Linked DNA regions of Homo sapiens: region 1 is linked to region 2. The links are contacts of gene promoters, found by promoter capture Hi-C in human tissues and cell types (Jung and others, 2019). All regions are on one chromosome and are shown on one strand. Each heading gives the region's core, a stretch centred on a gene start or on the middle of the fragment in contact. The rest is flanking DNA. Distances are from core to core; before and after follow the strand shown. Region 1 overlaps MICU1 (mitochondrial calcium uptake 1). Region 2 holds the start of PLA2G12B (phospholipase A2 group XIIB).

Region 1 (2,700 bases), core at 186-2,685, 540 kb before region 2:
CTACTCAGGAGGCCGAGGCAGGGGAATTGCTTGAACCTGGGAGGCAAAGGTTGCAGTGAGCCAAGATTGCGCCATTGCACTCCAGCCTGGGCGACAAGAGCAAAACTCTGTCTCCAGAAAAAAAAAAAAAAAAAGCAGTGGATAAAACTTTTAGAAGAAAACACAGGAGAGGCTGAGCACAGTGCACAGTGGCTCATGCCTGTAATCCCAGCACTTTGGGAGGCAAAGGCGGGCAGATCACTTGAGCCTGGAAGTTTGAGACCAGCCTGGCCAACATGGTGAAACCCTGTCTCTACTAAAAATACAGAAATTAGCCAGGCATGGTGGCATGTGCTTGTAATCCCAGCTACTCGGGAGGCTGAGGAATGAGAATTGCATGAACCCAGGAGGTGGAGGTTGTAGTGAGCCGAGATCGTGCCACTGCACTCCAGCCTGGGCAGCAGTGAAACTCTGTCTCAAAAAAAGACAAAAAACAAAAACAAAAACAAAACAAAACAAAACAAAACCACATAGGAGCAAATCTTCATGACCTTGACTAAGGCAAGAGTTCTTAGATGACACCCAAAGCACAATCCATAAAGGAAAAAAAACTGATTGGTTAGACTTCATCAAAATTTAAAAAATTTGTGCTTCAAAATAATGAGAAAATAGAAAAATCACAAGCTAGGAGAAAATGCTTGAAAATCATATATTTGGTAACAGACTTGAATCCAGGTCGGGCGCAGTGGCTCACACCTGTAATGCCAGCACTTTGGGACACCAAGGCGGGTGGATCACCTGAGGTTGGATGTTCGAGACCAGCCTGACCAATATGGTGAAAACCCATCTTTACTAAAAGTACAAAAATTAGCCAGGCTGTGGTGGTGGGCACCTGTAATCCCAGTGACTCAGGAGGCTGAGGCAGGATAACTGCTTGAACCTGGGAGGCAGAGGTTCAAGTGAGCTGAGATTGTGCCACTGCACTCCAGCCTGGGCGACAGAGGGAGACCCTGTCTCAAAAATAAAAAAAAAAGGACTTGTATCCAGAATTATATAAACAACTATTATAACTCAATATATGGGAAGACCAACAACCTGATTTAAAAAAAGATTTGAATAGACAGTTTACCAAACAAGACAAGTGAATGGCTAATAAGTACATGAAACAATGCTTAGCATCATTAGGAAAATACAAATTAAAATCACAATGATATACCACTACACACCTATTGGAATGACTGTAATAAAGAAGACAGACAATAACAGGTGTTGATGAGGGTGTGGAGAAACTGGAACTCTCGTATATTCACATGGAGATGTGAAATGGTTCCACCACTTTGGAAAACGGTTTAGCAGTTCCTCAAAAAATTAAATTTACCATACAACCCAGGTATTTCACTCCTAGGAATCTTCAACAAAAATGAAAACACAGGTCTGCAGGAGGACTTGTACGCAATGTTCACAGCAGCATTATTCCTAATAGCCCAAAACTGGAAACAATCCAAATGTGAATGGATAAATAAAATTTAGTATATCCAAGCAATAAAATACTATTTACTCTTCTGCAATAGAAAATAATAAACTATTAATATAAGCATCTACATAAAAATGTAATGTAGTAAATAAAATACTATTTACTCTTCTGCAATAGAAAATAATAAACTATTAATATAAGCATCTACATAAAAATATTGTGCTAAGTAAAAGAAGCCAGACACAAAAGACTACCTTATTATTGTATTTATATGAAATGTCCAGTAAATGCAAGTCTATAGAGACTGAAAGCTGTTTTATAGTTGCCTGGGGCTAGGGTAGAAATGAGGATTGACTGAAAGCTAGCAGGAGGGATCTTTTTGGGGTGATGGAAATGTTCTAAAACTGAATGGCAGTAATAATTGCATAACTGCAAATTTACTAAAATTCACTAAAATTAATAAAAATCACCGAATTGTACAGTTAAAATGGATAACTTATGGTATATAAATTATACCTCAAAAAAAGTTGTTAAAAAATATGAAGCAGTCAGAGTAGATGAGACAAGGAAAATGTAGCTTCCTTTGGAGTCAGCTGTAAAGCGAGATATCTAATGCTGACAGGCCATGATGAGTGCAAACACTGTAATGGATGATTCCCTCTTCCTGCCTTTTAATCAGTCACAGCAAATCCGTCTACCAGAAGCCAATCTAATTGCCCAAGTTCTGTCTATGGCCCACTGAAAAAAACAGTCTTCTTCCTTCCTTATATCCCATGCCTCTCACCATTCTTGTCATGTATCCTCTGCTCAATCTCCTGCTTAGTTTTTTTTTTTTTTTTTTTTGAGACAGAGTCTCACTCTGTTGCTTAGGCTGGAGTGCAATGGAGCAATCTTGGCTCACTGCAACCTTCGCCTTCCAAGTTCAAGCAATTCTCTTGCCTTAGCTTCCCAAGTGGCTGGGATTACAGACACCTGTCACCATGGCCAGCTAATTTTTTGTATTTTTGTAGAGATGTGCTTTCGCCATGTTGGCCAGGCTGGTCTTGAACTCCTGACCTCAGGTGATCCAACTACCTTGGCCTCCCAAAGTGCTGGGATTACAGGCGTGAGTCACTGCGCCCAGCCTCTCCTGCTTAGTTTTAAAACAATTTTAATTAATATTTTTATACCAGGTACAAGGCAATTCTTTCTGAACCCTGTGCTACATGTGGCCCATGTTACCTATTTCTTGGGTACCTTTCAGAGGT
Region 2 (2,700 bases), core at 27-2,526:
AAATTAAACCATAAAACTAATGCTACCTGAGACCTGAGACTGTGCATGCTTTGGAAAACGTTTTCATGCGCATTGGCAATTACACGATGCCACCCAGCTTCAAGGCCTGGGGCTCCACATTTTGCTCCCCTTACATTAACTTCCAGGGCCCCTGGGACCAGGGGCTCTGTGCCGGCAGCCAGGTGTGCACCTTATATCTGTGTACCCCCAGCCATATTCAGGCAAGGTAGGGGAAGTGCTCCTGCCAGCTCACAAATCTGCATCTGGCGCCAAGTCCAGGGGACAGCCCCGGGATCCCTGGTGAGCCACGAACCCTTCCTCTCCACAGCATGCCTGTCGTTGCCGAGGCTGCAGGCAGGGACAGCTCCCTTGAGAAAGTCCAGCAAATTGATGCCAGTCAGGGACTGAGAGCTGGGAGGACGGTGTGAACTGCAGCAGGGGGAAGGGAGAATTTGTTTCCAAGCTGAGCACAGAGCAGCTGAGGAGGTGGTTTTGCCCCATGGCAGATTTTTCTCTGAATGTTCGGCTTCAGTTTTCATCCCTGGGAACTCCTCACAGAGGCCTCTCATACCCACCCTCCTTCTTCCCACCCCAGGTACCCTTTTTTCCTAAGAACTGCCTCACAACAAACTCATTAAAATGGCCCAGGGAAGGTTTCCCAGATACAATACAGGAAGCTCAGTGAAATGTGAGTTTGAGATAAACAACGAAGAATTTGTCAGGATAAGTATGTCCCAGATATTTCACTGGACATACTTATACTAATGACTTATTTGTTGTTTATTTGGATTTCACATTTCACTGGGTGTCCTACATTTTTATCTGCTAAATCTGGCAGCTCTAAGTGGATAACAGGAAAAAGTGCAAGACAGATCGTGACCTCTCTGGGGCTGTCCATGGGTCCACCAGCAACAGTTTTTACAGAAAGAGAAACCGCACACTCACCATATCGGCACCTGTACTGACAGACTCCATTCTTCCCTCCCAGCAGCTCCAGAAAAGAATCGAAGTAGCTATTGACGGATTCAAAGCTTCCCCGGAGGTGCCGAAGGCCCCAGTCTGAATAGGACTCCTCCGTGTCAGGGCTCGTGTCGCTCTGAGCCAGGCCACCCCCAAGGCTGAGCCACAAAACCAAGAAGCCACTGGCCAGCTTCATCCTGCAGCCAGGTAGGTACTGGCTTCTCTCCTCAAACCCCAGCCAGTGTCCCAGAATTCCAGGGACAAACCCCCTACCCAGATGTCAGGCAGGACTGGGAAAGGGATTATCTGGAACATTCAATCTGTCTGTTCCCCAGAGGTGGACTTTAAACATAGCTATGGAGGTTGGGATGAGATCAGGGCAATTAGAAAGAGGGCAAAGGTTAGGGAGTGGGAGGGCCAGGGAGAGAGAACATTTCAAAGTGGATTCTACCACCCTGGAGGGAGGGAGATGTTAGCCAGCTTCTGAGACGCAGGAACGGTGAAGGATTCGGAGTTCTACCCCGACCAGCTTGTTAAGCTGTTGATCAGTTACAAGTGTGGCTCTTCAGGGCCAGCCTCTTGATAGAAGAGCTTGACCGAAGGTCCTAGCCACACCCCTCAGCCAGCTACCTACATAGTCTCCAAGGAGAGTCAGGAGGATGTGTACAGGGCCCAGGAAAGCCCCAGCGGTAGGAATTAATAGTCACTTTACCAAGGGTCACGATAGTGTCAGAGTAGGTACCAAGTGTGTGTTAAGCAGAAGTTCAGATTTGAGACCCCAGCTTCTGCTGTGGAACCCACCTGGCTCTGACGCATAAATCCTCTAATTTGGCAGAGCTCCCAGATGTAGCCATCTGAGTGCAGGGACATTTTGGCTTCTATTTACAGCAGTATCTCTGTTTACACTCAGCATAAGTGGATCATAAGACAAGATCTACAGATGGTCCAAGGACAATTCTGGGGGCACTCGGCTCTCCTGGTGGTGTTTTTCCTTTGAGTTTCTTAGAAGTCAGAGGGTTTATCAAATAGTCTATTTGGGAGTGTAGGCTTTTAAGACTGTTGACTGAAGTCTAGTGTTTTGGCATCGTTTTCAGTTTAGACTGCTTTTAGTCGTGTGAAGAAATGCCATCTATAAAATCACTAGTCTAGGACCGGGCATGGTGGTGCATGCCTGTAATCCCAGCATTTTGGGAGGCCGAGGCGTTTGGATCACCTGAGGTCAGGAGTTTGAGGCCAGCCTGACCAACATAGCGAAACCCCGTCTCCACTAAAAATACAAAAATTAGCCAGGCAAGGTAGCAGCCGCCTGTAATCCCAGCTACTAGGAAGGCTAAGGCAGGAGAATCACTTGAACCCAGGAGGCGGAGGTTGCAGTGAGCCGAGAGCACGCCATTGCACTCCAGCATGGGCGACAAGAGCGAAACTCTGTCTCAAAAAAATAGTAATAATAAAATAATCACCAGTCTATAAAAATGATACCTTTATGGACCACATGAATCATTTAGCTCCTTTCTCAAATGTTTGTCTGGAAAGCCCCATGGAAAATAATGAATTAAATGAATTAATTTCTTCATTTTCAGTAAATGTGTTTGGCTGAAGACTCAGACTCCAGGAAGGGCAGTGGTTAAAAATTATTCATAGTCACAACAATGCCACCCAATATTTTAAAGCATCTATACTTTTTCAAACCACTTTCATGCATATGCACATACACAGAGGCACACACATACACATGCACAT

Evidence for each region. Contacts are between HindIII fragments. The study calls those that stand out against the background at their distance.
Region 1: a contact is called between a fragment that was not itself captured here and the fragment with the promoter of PLA2G12B in region 2, in 2 of the 25 tissues and cell types used here (H1 embryonic stem cells and lymphoblastoid cells).

What each region holds. Positions count from the first base shown.
Region 1 is chr10:72,412,738-72,415,437 of GRCh38, forward strand. All of the region lies in intron 9 of MICU1 (mitochondrial calcium uptake 1), which reads right to left. Among named protein-coding and RNA genes, the nearest start is that of DNAJB12, 59 kb to the left of the region's middle. The HindIII fragment of the contact is 4,207 bases long and covers 1-2,700 here.
Region 2 is chr10:72,953,530-72,956,229 of GRCh38, forward strand. It overlaps PLA2G12B (phospholipase A2 group XIIB), which reads right to left and starts at 1,277. Exons shown (of 4, transcript NM_032562.5): 1 at 946-1,277. The coding sequence starts at 1,156. The HindIII fragment of the contact is 10,065 bases long and covers 1-2,700 here.